Regions from separate parts of the Homo sapiens genome. Here all the other regions are linked to region 3. Evidence: promoter capture Hi-C in human tissues and cell types (Jung and others, 2019). All regions are on one chromosome and are shown on one strand. Each heading gives the region's core, a stretch centred on a gene start or on the middle of the fragment in contact. The rest is flanking DNA. Distances are from core to core; before and after follow the strand shown. Region 1 overlaps LOC107984390 (a long non-coding RNA gene). Region 2 overlaps TTC12 (tetratricopeptide repeat domain 12). Region 3 holds the start of DRD2 (dopamine receptor D2).

Region 1 (4,437 bases), core at 759-3,258, 150 kb after region 3:
TCTGGGCCTGGTCCTCAGCAAGTCCCACAATAGATGTCCCACCTGAACAGTTAGCAGAGCCATAAGGAAAAAGGAGCCTGCCTGGGTCCCTGAGACACCACCTGGAGTGAAGCTGCCCAATAGAATAAGACACATCCCATTAACAAAAATTTTGTGTGATGAACCACTGAGATTTGAGGGTTGTTCATCTCAGTGGCTAGATAACTGTCCCTAACACATACTCCAGGCTGGAATTCAGCCCAGGAAGTCAAAAAGGTGAGACTTTCTGAGCATTTGAGACAAGAGTGAGTGAAAGTAATTGCTCGTATATTACTCAGGGTCACTCTGATGCACAGAATGGCGTTCTGCCAGAAAATAGCATTTAAAGTGTGTTGGTTTTTACACTATGTTTATAAACTAATTTAACAACTCGTGAATTAAAGTCCTGCATTATAACAGAAATGAAAATCATATCTGAAATTAGAGAATTGTTAATGTAATCCAACAGTTAATTATTTGCAAGGGTTGAGGGGGGTGTTAGTGATATATTCAGTATTTAGGTGTTTCTTGAACCAGTTAAAGATTCCTTTTTATATAAATGTATAAATGTTGGTTATAGCTTTCTCATTAGGATTAATGGTCCTAATTTATACACTTACTAGATTTGAGTAAGTACATATGATTGTACTAGTTTAGATATATTATCTCAAGTGGGACATAAAGTAAAAAAACTATTTCTTGAAGCAGCAAAGAGCACACATAAAAGATACTTTTGAGAGCTAGATACTGAACTAGATATTTTGAGAGCTAGATACTGAACTAGATATTACAAAAATCACAGAAATTACATATAAATTGATTTCTAAGAAAGGAAACAATAAATATTATGTGTTGTGTTATACAAAATTAGAGCATGTGTTTATGTCCACATTCACTGTGATTTTTAACACTGACATGTGTTGAAGAGAATCCATTAGTGTTTCAGTAAGAGTCCAAATATTGAGTAGAATGTCAGAATTGCTTAGCTGTTTGTGTAGGAATTTTAAAACAAAATCAGGTTTGTTATAATTTATTTGTTTTTTAATAAATCTGTAGACTTGCCCCTCTTGGGGAGGGCTTTGGATGAACAGTTAGGGCTTCATAGGGTTTTGGAGCCAGGAGTGACAACAAAAGCATTTTTAGAAGATAAATCTTTTACTGAGTGCAGGGTGGAAAACATGCGGAAGAAACTGGAGGTGTCAATAAGCCAGTTAGAGGGCTTTACAAAGATTCAGAAAGTGTGAGGACCTGGAGCAATAGCAGTGAAATTGGAGAAAGACAGGGGAAATAAATATATTGAAAAAGGAGGTATAGCTGGAGAAAAGGAAAAAAAGAGAAAATATATTGACATCTTACGCCTGGGTACCAGGGAGGACAGAGGCCTGTTGGGGTGTTAAGAGGAGCTGCTGGGGAAGAAGGAAGGTGACAATGACACTCCACGGTTGAAAAAGCCAGGACAGCAGAGAGGACATCGTTCTTGGAGGGAAAACTGTGTTTCCAAGGTGTAGAAGCTGAAATATGGTCAGTATGTCTGTAAAACAAAGAAACACGTAGGCCACCCTGAGAGGGGCTTCCTGGAGACCACCGTGGTATCCAGTAAAGAGCACAGCATGTGGGGTCAGGAGGATCTGCTTCTGAACCCAGGTTCTCCCCTCATGAGCTATGTGACCTTAGGAAATTGATCTAACCTTTCTGGGCTTCAGTTCCTTCCTCTGTAAAATGAAATCAACAATAGATTCGCTGTTCATTAAACAGAAGTAATTATTTCTTCTTGATTCTTTTTCTAATATAATTTTTTATTTTTTAATTTTAATCTATTTATTTATTTATTCTGAGACTGGTTTTTGAGACTGGCCAATTTTCGTATTTTTGGTAGAGATGGGTTTGCACTATGTTGCCAAGACTGGTCTTGAACTCCTGGGCTCAAGCAATTCTCCTGTCTCGGCCTCCCAAATTGCTGGAATTATAGGCATGAGCCACTGTGCCCAGCCACTGTTCTTGGTTCTTTAAGACTATTCCCCAAACATCTTCAAAATAGCCTTTCTTAGAATTGCAAGGGAAATCATTTTTAATCTCCTCTCCCTTGGCCCATCTGTATAACAAAGATAATATTGTTTACATCTGTGGTTCTCAAATGTTATCTGTGCATCAAAATCATTTGAAATATTTGTAAGATACAGATTCCTGTGCCCTAATTCAACAACTTCTGATTCAGTACTTCTGGGCGAGAAGCCAGGCATCAATATCTTTCTAGTTAAGAACCACTAATTCACATCAAAAAGCTGGAATGGAGATGAAATAAAATGAGCATGGCAAACCCACATAGCACAGTTCCTGGCACACAGTGCTTGTTTTATAAGTGGTACTGGTTGGGAGTGGTGGGGTTGGTGATGGGGTGGGCCATGGAAGTGGGCAGGGTGATGGTGGGTGATGGTGATGAAAGTTGGGTTATGTTAATGGAGGTGGTAAGTGATGATCGGGGGTGGTGGATGGTGGAGGCCAGGTTGTCGAAGATCCCTGACTCAGCCAGAAGATTGAAACTTTGGTGGAGCATGAGGAGGCAGTGAATGATGGGACATTCCCAGTGGAAACAAATGTTCATTCTTGCTTCCATTAGGGATTTGTTCCTGGACTAAATAAGAGGAGAGGCAGCTCTTTGGAGATTTATTCTCCTTTCCTCTGAAGTAAGAAATACAACTGAAACTACAAACTGCAAAACTGTATTATGACCTGCAAAATAGATTAATTGTATCAAACCATATCTTGCAACACCAGCAAAGATCAAACTACTTTAAGACCAGCACACTGGTGTGTTGTATGCACAGAGGCTTGATGCCAAGACCACGGGGAAAAGGATTCAGCAGTGACTCTGGACTCAGGCTTTAGAGACAAGACCCCTGACTATTCCAGAAATTCACTTTGTTTATAAATTCTGACCAACCCCAGTCCAGACTTCACTCACAAATTTCTACCCTATGACCACTCTATCACAAAAACCCATTAACTTCCCCATTTTGAGCCACCACTGAGTCTCTGTCAAAACAATGCTCCCTCATGCCGTGAAAGAAAGAGCATTGTTTTAAGCATTATTAAACATGCCATGAAAGAGGGAGCATGGTTTCCCAGTGGTCTTTGGAAGAGGGTTTCAACAGGCAGACAGGCACCCATGCCTCTTGCTCTTAGACTGTCAACTTGGTTCATGGAAACAGCCTGTCCAGCACCTGCACTCACTGAGTATGGAAAATGGCTCACTGTGGACCAAACACTTCAGAGCAGCCAGTGAGAATCAAAATTTTGGGATGTTTAGGTAAATATTCAAAGTTAAATGTATTAGAGTCTTTTCCTATATGTTTTGAAAAGCAGCCAGGGGTCCAGAGGAAACCTCCACAGGACACTTGCCTTTCAATGCTTGGAGCTCTCTGGGCACTTCTTGTGGAGAAAAGGTGGGTAGAAAGGCAGGGGCAGCACGTTTCTTGTCTGAAGGGCCCATGGCTGGAGGAAGAGCATCCCTGAGGAGCCTGCAGGTGGTGGCGAGGAGAGAGGGGTACTCTGAGGGCGACCTAGAGCACCTACCTGCTTCTCCTCCTCAGCCCCAGCTCCTGCTCTAGAGGGTTTCACATTCGCTAACCCCTCCAGCCTTTGTCCATGTTGCTTGTGAATCGATGTCTTAGTCTGCTCAGACAGTTATAACAAAATACCATATTCTGGTGGCTTAGAAACCACAGAAATTTATTTCTTACAGTTCTGGAAGCTGGGAAGTCCAAGGTCAAGGCTCCTGCAGATTTGACATCTGAAGAGGGCTAACTTTCTGGTTCATAGATGACACTTTCCCACTATGCCCTCACTTGGTGGAAGGGGCAAGGCAGCTCTCAGGGATCTCTTTCATAAGGTCACTAATCCCATTCATGAGGGCTCCATCCTCATTACCTAATCACCCCCAAAGGCCCCATCTCCTACTACCATCAACTTGGGGGTTTTCAACATAGGAATTCTGGAGGAACATGAAAATCGAGCCCCTAGCAATAGGTATTAAGGTTATGATGGTTTAATATTCAAACAGAAAGGAGTGAACCATGCAGGCAAATGGGAACTTCTTTACCATTCGGTTTGGGAGATTTACCATTACCTCAAAGCAGAACTTGAATAGCCAAATTTATGCAAGTACGTTTTCCTTTTATTTCTTTCTTCCAGTGAGTTGTTTCAAAAATATCTTAGTAGTTGTCTACATAAAAGCCTTTTGTGGTTTTCTGATAACCTAATGCTGTCCTCCATACCCCAACATGTAAAATATGGGCCCTCTCAAGGGTGACCCCATCTCCCTGTTGCCTTAGGAGTCTGTTCCCAGTGTAATTATAGCCTCTCTTTCACTCCCAAAACTGCTTCAGTTTGTGTAATAAATTATGTGGTGACCCTAGCAGT
Region 2 (4,392 bases), core at 1,893-4,392, 150 kb before region 3:
AAGAGCAAAGGACCAAGAAGAGCCAAGAAAACTCTGCAGGAAAAAAAAAAAAAGCAGGACAACTTTCCCTACCTGACATTCAAGATTTATTATAAAGCCATAGTAATCAATGCATGGAGGTTTTCGTGCTGGAAAGGACAATCAGGGGAAAGGAATGAAGAGCCTGGAGAAGATTTGCACACATAACAGGGATGATGAGACACATTGCTGGCAGGGACTTCTCAACAAATAATGCTCCTGCCCTACGTGAAAGTCAACTCTAGGTGAATTACATACCTTAGTAAGAAAAAAACTTTAAAACTTTTATAAGACACCATAAGAGAGTATATTTATAACCTTACTGACACAAAAGACCTAAATTGTAAAGGAAAAGATGGTATATTTAACACACTAAAATTAAAAAGAAAATCTCTTCAACAACATATTCCATAAAAACAAATGAAAAGACAAAGAATACCCAAGGGGAAGATGTTTGGAAATACATGTAACCAGTCCAGAATATATACAACTGATACGGGTAGGAGATGGGAATAGTGGATAGAAGAGGGTGGTTCCCTGGCAAAGACCCCACCCTCAAGCCGGGAGATCTGCAGCGCTAAGTGGAAACAGGCATTTCTGTTTTCGTGCCCAAAAAGTTGCCTTTTGGCCTGCCATGCTCCCCTATCCTGTGCCCATGTAAACTCTGAACCCCAGGCTCCAGAAGCAGACGAGCAGGTGAGATGAGGACACAAGCAGACAAATGGCAGAACGACACAGTAGAGAAAAGAGGAGGAATGTCTGAACGCCGAGAGGAGTTTGGCTGGGAGCAGCCAGAGGGGAGTTGGGCCACTGGATGGCCAGGCTCCAGGGGAAGATCATCTTTCCCCTCCATTCCCCCTTCCAGCTCCCCATCCATCCCACTGAAAGCCACCTCCACCACTCAGTAAAACCCCACATTCATCCTTTAGTCCTGTGTGTGACCTGATTCTTCCGGGGATGCTGGGCAAGAGCTCGGGATACAAAAAGCTGTCACTTCCCTCTGCCCTTGTGAAAAGGCAGATGTCCGTCAAGCTGGTTAACAATCAAGTCGTCCGCAGATGGCAGGGCTAAAAGGACACGCTGTAACACGTGCCCAACTGGGCTCCTGCACTTGTCCGTCTGCGTTCTCCCCCTCCCCTCAGGGGTTTGAGCAGTGGTGGTGACTAAACAGGCAAGCCACACCCCTGTCGCATGTCCTGCGAGGGGGATCAGAGAACTCCCCTGTTTCACAATCAAATCAACCAGGCATGGTGGTGTGTGCCTGTAGTCTTTGCTACTCAGGAGGCTGAAGCAGGAGGATCGCTTGAGCCCAGGGGTTCAAATCGAGCCTGGACAACATAGCAAGACCATCTCTTAAAAAAAAAAGAATTTTTTAAAAAAGAAATTATATTAACTAATAAGAAAGAGACAATGACCCAATAGAAAATTGGCCAAGGATAGGAGTAGGCTCTTCGTAGAAATCCAAATGGGTGCAAATCAATAAGAAGATGCTCAATTCCAATCAAATTCAGCGAAATGCAAATTAAAACAATGAGATACCATTCCCATCCATTACATTGACAACAATTAAAAAGTTTAACCCAGCAAGTGATGATAAGAATGTAGAAGAATGGGAACTTCCTCTTGTACTCTTTTGTAGGAGTAAAAATTGGTACAGCCATATCCTGAAGGATATGTAACATGTGCACAAGGAAATATGTACATACAGGTATTCAATTCAGCATTTATTTACTTTAGAAAAAACTGAAAAACCACCTGGCTATCAATAAGAGAATGGATTAACTATGGTATATATAATGGTTTAAATGAATCAACTGGAACCATGTGTATCAAGAACACATCTCTAAAGCATCTTAAGAGAAAAAAGTAGGTTGCAAATGAATGCACATTTTATACAACTATTTTAAAAAATTGTTTAAATATTACATACACAAATATTCTGGTAGATTGCAAGAATGGTTACAAATTCCTTTCTTCCCATCAAGAGTGGAGCCTATTTCTCTGCCACTTGAATCTGGGTTGGCCATGTGTGTTGCTTTGGCCAAAAGGATGTTTGCAAACATGACACAAGCAGAGGCTTGAAAAGTGCATTTGAATTAGGGCTTGCACTCATACCACTCATGAGAAAGTAAGACACACTTACCCGGGTTGCTTGCATTTCTCAAGCCAACAGCCAGCAGACTTTCTAAAGCAGAGCCACTTAGATGACTGACAGTTGACCATGGATATATGTGTGAGTCCAGCTGAAACCAGAACTGGCCAGCTGAATTCAGCTCAAATTGTTGACATAGATAATTGTAAACTAAGCCACAAAAATGGTGGTTTGTTTCAAACCACTAAGTTTTGATGTGGTGTGTGATGCAGCAAAATCTAAATGATACAAATACTAAGTATTAAAGCATGCTGGAGAAAAGATACCATCAACTTATAAATGGCATAGAAACAAAAATATTATATTACTTTCGGTATGCTTGAAATATTGTACAATTAAAAATTTATAATTTCCTTGAAGACTCAGTGGGAAATGAAGAAATTAGAACAGGAAAATGAATTAAGAAGTTTAATTGTGAAGGGGAGGAGACAGAGCATTAGGAGAGATTTAAAGTACATAATTTAGAAGGAAGCTGGTCGAATGGAATAGGTTGAAAATATTGCGCAATAGGATTATTAATTGGTGATGCAGCGTTCCTGATTATGCAAAATATGACAATGGAATCCTGGGCCCAGGATGAGGGACTAACCTTACAGAAGAATGGGCACCTTTTCCTGGTAGTAAGGAAGGATGGATGTAGGTATAGGCAGTTTTGTAGTTTTAATAGCAGGAAGTCGATGGCATCTCTTTCCTCTCTGAATTGATAAATAAGGGCATCTTTTTGAGATGGTCAGGTTTAGATTGCAAACTGTTAAAAGTCATTGGGGGAGTGACAGGATATCTTGCCCAGGATAACAAGGATTGCTGGGCATCACTGAAGGTCCAGTTGAGTTTGAGTTTGGACCAGTCCCCCAGGCATCTATCTGTCTCCCTCAGTACATAGCATTCCTAATGCAGACTGGTAGAATTGGGTAATTGGAATTATGTAGAGCTGGAATTTTGTCTGTTAGGTGAGATAGCAGGGCAAGGGAGTTGAGTATATGGGCAGGATGGCTGCTGAGTGATTGACCATGGAATCTAAGCTGGATAAGCAGTAAAGTGAAGACAGGTGAGGATAGGGTTAAGGGCTGCTGTTTTGCGATTTTGAGCTGCCTGTACTTACATGTTTGTCTCCCACACAAGTTCATAAACTCTTCAAAAAAGGATCTTTTTTTATTCATCATTGTTATCTATAGCATCAGCATAATATCTAACTCATAATGAGCTCTCCATAAATTATTGTTGAATTGAATAATGGCTTAAAACTCTGTTCCTTAAAGCTAATAGCTATACTCACCTGCAACTTTTTCTAGGCAAAAAAAAAAAAAAAAAAACCTGTTGTTAATTTTTTCTCATTGGTTCTGCTTGCTCTATTTTGCTTTCTATTGCTCTATTTTTTTCTTTAAGATCTTTCCCATGCATTTTATGCACCATCCTTTCTAGTGAATAGAGTCTTTTGAATATCTTGTTTGATTAAGTCACACCTGATTTCTTCTCTAGCCAATTTAATTCAGGAGATGAATTCTGATGACCCAGTTGTGCAACAGAAAGCTGTCCTGGAGACAGAAAAGAGACTACTGCTTATGGAGGAAGACCAGGAGGAGGATGAATGCAGGACCACCTTGAACAAGACTATGATCAGTCCTCCACAAACTGCTATGAAGGTTTCTTTTTCTATTGAGAAGTTATATAAGTACTTACAGTGAGAAGACCTACACCTAGGCAGTAGTTTAATCTCAAACTGTCCAGCAAGGCTGAAATGGTCTTTTGTTTCTTAGATTTATTTTTTATAAGAAAGTATAAAATTTGATTTTTTTTTTCCTTTGATCTTTCTGGGTTATCTTTAAACAACCCTTTGGATCTATTTTAATGGAAATTTCCCCTCTCCACCCCCTGAGCTTGTGTGATATATTTAAGCTGTACCTTTAAGGTAATGTATTCTAACTCATTTCCAACTCATAAGCCACAGCTGAGGTCCCTTGACCTGGGCAGCCTTGTTTTGCAGACTCGGTCCCATAGCAATTGTGCCCATACTCAGATCTCCTGATTTAAAGCAAGCCCCATGAATTCTGAGCCCTTCAGTTTTGATGGTTAAAAGAAATGACCTCTTGTTTGTAATTGATTTGCCTTCTTGGTTTATATACATATAAATTAGAGTGGTTTTTGAAATTTGTTTCTTTGTTTTTATGGTAACCTACGTCTACAGAGTGCAGAAGAAATAAACTCAGGTAAGGACAGCATCT
Region 3 (4,725 bases), core at 589-3,088:
GACTACCCTGGCCCTCATTTGGTTCTAGGTCTAACCCTCCCAAACCACTTCCTTGTCAGATGTCTGCATTCAGAGATGGCATCAAAACCCCCTGCAACAAATAATCCAGGAATTTTGAACACTAAGGAGGGAAGTCCAAGGCAGGGACTGAAACCCAGGAAAGCAGCTTGCTGATTTTCTTGAAACTGGTCATGCTGACCACAGTCTCTCTATCTGGCCACCCTCATCAAACAGCTGCATGAGGGAAAGACGATAAGCATGATTTCTTTTTCAAGTGGTCCTAATGCTGCAGGATGAATCAGAGATAAGCATGCATATTTGCATTTGAAGCAGGGTGGGAGTGGGGAGAATCGTTGAACATCTAGCTCCCTAAGGAGGAGCAAGGATTGGCCTAAAAGGTTTGTAGCCTGGTCAAAATACAGAAAGGCTTGGATCTGCAGAAGGATCTGGAGTGGGATCCACAAAGTGCCTTGCACCTCACTCCCTCACCCCCTCACCCAACCTCAAGAGCCACCGAAAAAAAAGTAGTGGGGTGTCAGGTGGGGCAACAGTGACTTGCTCAGACAGCTTCCTTGTGGCTGAGAGCAAGCGCCTGTCCCCACGGAGCTGCACTGCTGTGACTTGTGTCCATGGTGAAGCCTGTTATGTAGACGCACACGCACCCTCTTACCTCTGCTCTTCAAGAGGAAGCACTCAAGGGCTGCCCGCCTCAGACAGGGATAGGGAAGCGCTCTGTCTGGTGCTTAGAGGTGTCTCTTGTCTCCGCATACCACCCTAGAGGGGCTCTCGGTCCATCATAGAGCCGGGCCGAGAGCCGGGCGGTCACCCTCCGCTACTGCCGCCACCGTCGCCTGCACTGCCGGGTAGAAACGGGTCTGGCACCCAAGCCTCCCTCCCCGACTAGGTGTCAACCCAAGAGAAGGCGAAGGAGAACGAAAGTTCAGGACCAAGGACAGCGGCAACCGTGGGAGCGGGAGAATCCAGCCAGAATCTGCCTCTCCCCCATCCTTAGCTTCTGCCTTAGAAACTGAAAAGGGTCAGGTCGCACCAACACAGAGTTGCCAAAAACAGCCCTTCTTCCTCCGGAAGAAGTCGGAAACTCTGGCCGCGAGCCCCGGGTCTCGCGCTTGGGTGCTGGGGGAAGTGCCCTCCCGAGATTGTGGGGAGCGGCCTCCCTCCCGCCCTCCGATGCCGCGGCTCCGCCGTGCTGCCCTGGGCGCCCCGCGGGGAGGCTGCCCCAGCTGCGCCCGCTCGTGCTCGGGGAGAGGATTCCCTTCTAAGTGGCGAGGAGGCTACTGAGAAGGAGGGAGAGGGGATAGCAGCCGCGGGCTCCAGACGCCCTCTGCCCCCGCCCGACGGGGAGCCCATGCAGAGCCGGATCCCAGGCGGGCGCTCCCGAGCAGGCGGCCAGGAGTGGCCGCACAAACTTCTGGTCCTGGCCTCGCTCCCCTTGGAGGTCCCTCCTCCTCTCCCCGTGACACTGAGTCGCCCGCCGCTCCATCCGGCCGGTGCTTACCTTCAAGCCATAGGGCGCCCGGGGGCAGAGACGGCGCCGGCTGCTTGAGGCTTCCAGCTCCCGCCGCATCCACGCGCGGCCGCCCCTCCGGCAGCCGTCCGGGGCCGCCACTCTCCTCGGCCGGTCCCTGGCTCCCGGCCCCGCCGCGCCGTTCAGAGCCCCGGCGGGCAGCAGCTCGGCCGGCTCTGGCCCGCGGGGAGCAGTGGACGGGCCGCGGCGGGGCGGGGCGGGGCGGGGCCGGGCGCGGGGCGGGCGGGCAGGAGGGAGCGCGGGGACGGGGCGGAGGCGGCGCGGTGCGCGCGTGAGGCTGCCGGTTCGGCACTGAAGCTGGACAGCTCTGCGGCGCCCGAGCGCGGGGAGCGCGGGAGGGAGGTGCCCCGGTCCCCGCCCCTGAGACAGGCCCCGCCCCCGCCCCCCACCAAAGGAGCTGTACCTCCTCGGCGATCCCCGGCCTGAACGGGTAGGAGGGGTTGGGGGATTCCGCCATCCCTTGTTTTGAGGCGGGAACGCAACCCTCGACCGCCCACTGCGCTCCCACCCACACCCAGAGTAATAAGCTGTGATTGCAGGCTGGGTCCTCACCGTCTGCTCGCCAGTCTTCTCCTTTGAGGACTCAGAAGCCAAGGGTTGCGGGAGGCACCACCCATCCAGCAAGTCAGGCAAGGAGAGGAGGTGTTGGAAGAGGTCCGCATCCGTTTTCTGACTTCAGGTCTTGGAATCTATGTAGTCAGTTCTATTGCTGGACTCATCCAAAGGAAAAAGCCTGTTTGGAGTTGACCTGACATGGAAATGCAAAAGGAGGCCTCAGGGGTTCCAGCTCACCCTTGACTCCAAACTGAGGTGTGTGAGGCAGGGAGTGGGGAGAGGGAGAAAGAGATAGAGTGGTGAAGGGTGTTCCGCTGCTACCCTGCCCACTGTCATTTGGGCTGCAGAGGAACCTCGTTCTTCTCCCCTTTTCTTCCTCTCTCCTTTTCTTTCTTTTCTTTTCTTTTCTTTCTTTCTTTCTTTCTTTCTTTCTTTCTTTCTTTCTTTCTTTCTTTCTTTCTCTTTCTTTCTTTCCTTTCTTTCTTTCTTTCTTCCTTCCTTTCTTTTTCTTTCTTTCTCTTTCTTTTCTTTCTTCTGCAGCAATTAGTTACCAACTGTCCTCAGTTTGCCAGATTCTGTGTCAGATTCAGAAGTCACACACAGAAAGAAAACCAGGCCCCTGATCCCGCACCCTGGCAATCCAGAGAGGGGACCCCCAGGGAAATAACTGAGGCTTAAACAGGTGCTGTGAAGCACAAAAAAGCGAGACTTTACAGGAACCGGGCATTGAAGGAGCAACACCAGTTCCCAAGGGGAGAAGGTGGCACAACACTCCAGGGAGAGGGAAGAGCAGGGGCAGAGGACTGACTCTGCAGAGCAGGGAGTCGGCCCTGCATGGCTGGAATCCAGCCTCTCTGGGCCACAAGGATTAACTTCATCTCAGCATTTCCTCCAATGACACACACAATTATAGAAAGTGAGGGCTGGAAAGGACCTTAACATTCATCCAATTCCGCCTCACCTCAGAAGGGAGAACTGAGTCCCAGAGAGATGGAGTGTCCTTGCAAATCCCACAGAGTCCAGCACTGAACCGTCCCCCTCTCCAGAGGCACAAAACAGCACCTCTCTCAAATGCAGCCATCTCTGGAGGCACGGGAGCAGAGGAAGCTGTGGGCTCCCCACCTCACCCCACCATGACTCTTCCCAGCTCCTGCCCCTGGATCTTGCTGATCTGGACTGGCCTCCATTTGCCTGCAGGCTCTATAGGGAGATATTACACCAATAGGAGTCCTAGAATGTTGCCATAATTGCCTTTAAGGGATCAGCCATTACAGATATGGTTGACATCCCAGTGTTTCCCTTGTATACCCTTGGACCATTCTTTCCTAGGTTTAATCCACATAAGGAGATATTTGGTACCTCCCAACTCAGCACCTCTACATAGGTTCAGGGATGGGTCAGACTAGCCAGAGCACCTGGATTGGTGTCCCGCCTTGGTCACCTACCTGTTGTGTGGGCTTGCCTAAATTGCTTGATCTCGCGAAGTCTCAGTTTCTCCATTTTTAAGTGGGGACTAAAAATAACGATCTCTGAGCTTTACTGAGAAAAATAGATGAGGACATGTTAGACAATGGTAATATGGGCCATCTCTGGCTGCTCTGGGGTGGGGAGGGGAGCCCTGTTCATCAGGAGGCAGAAGCAGGAAGAAGATGAGCTCCATAAGGTGCACCCACCCAAGGACACTGTAGCTCTGCGCTGCCTTTTTTACCCCAATCTTACATGGCTGAGTGGATTTCATGCTGGCTGTGAGTGAGACGGATGGATCTTTTAGTTTTCAATTAGCAAACGCCTCACTCTTTAAACAAGCGGCACAGCAAACAGATGCACTGTGTGATTGATGACAGGGAACATCTGCGGCCAAGCAGCGGCTGCACCAGAGGCTCCCAGCTTCCTGGGCTAGCAGGGCCCTCTGGAGGTCGTTTGGTGCCTCCCCCTGCCTCTAGGCAGGAGTGTGCCCAGTCCAAGTGGGCGGGGTGGGGGCAGGGTGTCCCTTTGCCTTATAGCTTTCCTGAAAAAGGATCTACAACAGCCTCTTTGAATTCTTTACCTCCTTGGAGTCAGGAAGTTCCACCTGATGTACCTCCTAAATCTTTCATTTATTTCTACCCTTTTCATTGTTGAAAGTTGTAAGGAAATAAGTAGTAGTGGGTATTAGGGGTTGTCTTAGTCCATCTGGGATGCTATTAATATAACAAAATACTGTAAACTGTGTGGTTTACAAACAGAATTTATTTCTCACAGTTCTGGAGGCTGGGAAGTCCAATATTAAGGTGCTGGCAGAGTTGGCGTCTGGTGAGAGCCAGCTTTCTGTTTCATAGATGGTACTTTCTCACTGTGTTCACACATGGTGGAAGGGGTGGATGAGTGCTCTTGGGCCTCTTTTACAAGGGGACTCATCCATCCTATTTATGAGGGCTGTGTCTTCTTCTGTCCTCATGACCTCCTCACTGCCCAAAGGCCTCACTTTCCCTTTGTTTTGTTTTGTGTTTTGTTTTGTTTTGTTTTGTTTTTACAGAGTTTTGCTCTTGTTGCCTAGGCTAGAGTGCAGTGGTGCTATCTTGGCTCACCGCAACCTCCGCCTCCCGGGTTCAAGTGATTCTTCTGCCTCAGCCTCCCGAGTAGCT

What was found. Contacts are between HindIII fragments. The study calls those that stand out against the background at their distance.
Region 1: a contact is called between a fragment that was not itself captured here and the fragment with the promoter of DRD2 in region 3, in 2 of the 25 tissues and cell types used here (H1 embryonic stem cells and adrenal gland).
Region 2: a fragment that was not itself captured here is called in contact with the fragment with the promoter of DRD2 in region 3 in 2 of the 25 tissues and cell types used here (bladder and mesenchymal stem cells).

The regions. Positions count from the first base shown.
Region 1 is chr11:113,621,148-113,625,584 of GRCh38, forward strand. The region is part of intron 1 of LOC107984390 (a long non-coding RNA gene); the gene reads right to left. Among named protein-coding and RNA genes, the nearest start is that of TMPRSS5, 83 kb to the right of the region's middle. The HindIII fragment of the contact is 9,626 bases long and covers 1-4,437 here.
Region 2 is chr11:113,319,639-113,324,030 of GRCh38, forward strand. TTC12 (tetratricopeptide repeat domain 12) reads left to right here. Exons shown (of 22, transcript NM_017868.4): 3 at 3,650-3,813; 4 at 4,356-4,377. Among named protein-coding and RNA genes, the nearest start is that of TTC12, 7.3 kb to the left of the region's middle. The HindIII fragment of the contact is 4,616 bases long and covers 835-4,392 here.
Region 3 is chr11:113,473,560-113,478,284 of GRCh38, forward strand. DRD2 (dopamine receptor D2) reads right to left here and starts at 1,839. Exons shown (of 8, transcript NM_000795.4): 1 at 1,517-1,839. It overlaps LOC105369501 (a long non-coding RNA gene), which reads right to left. Exons shown (of 6, transcript XR_948024.2): 5 at 3,547-3,640; 6 at 1,970-2,294. The HindIII fragment of the contact is 27,627 bases long and covers 1-4,725 here.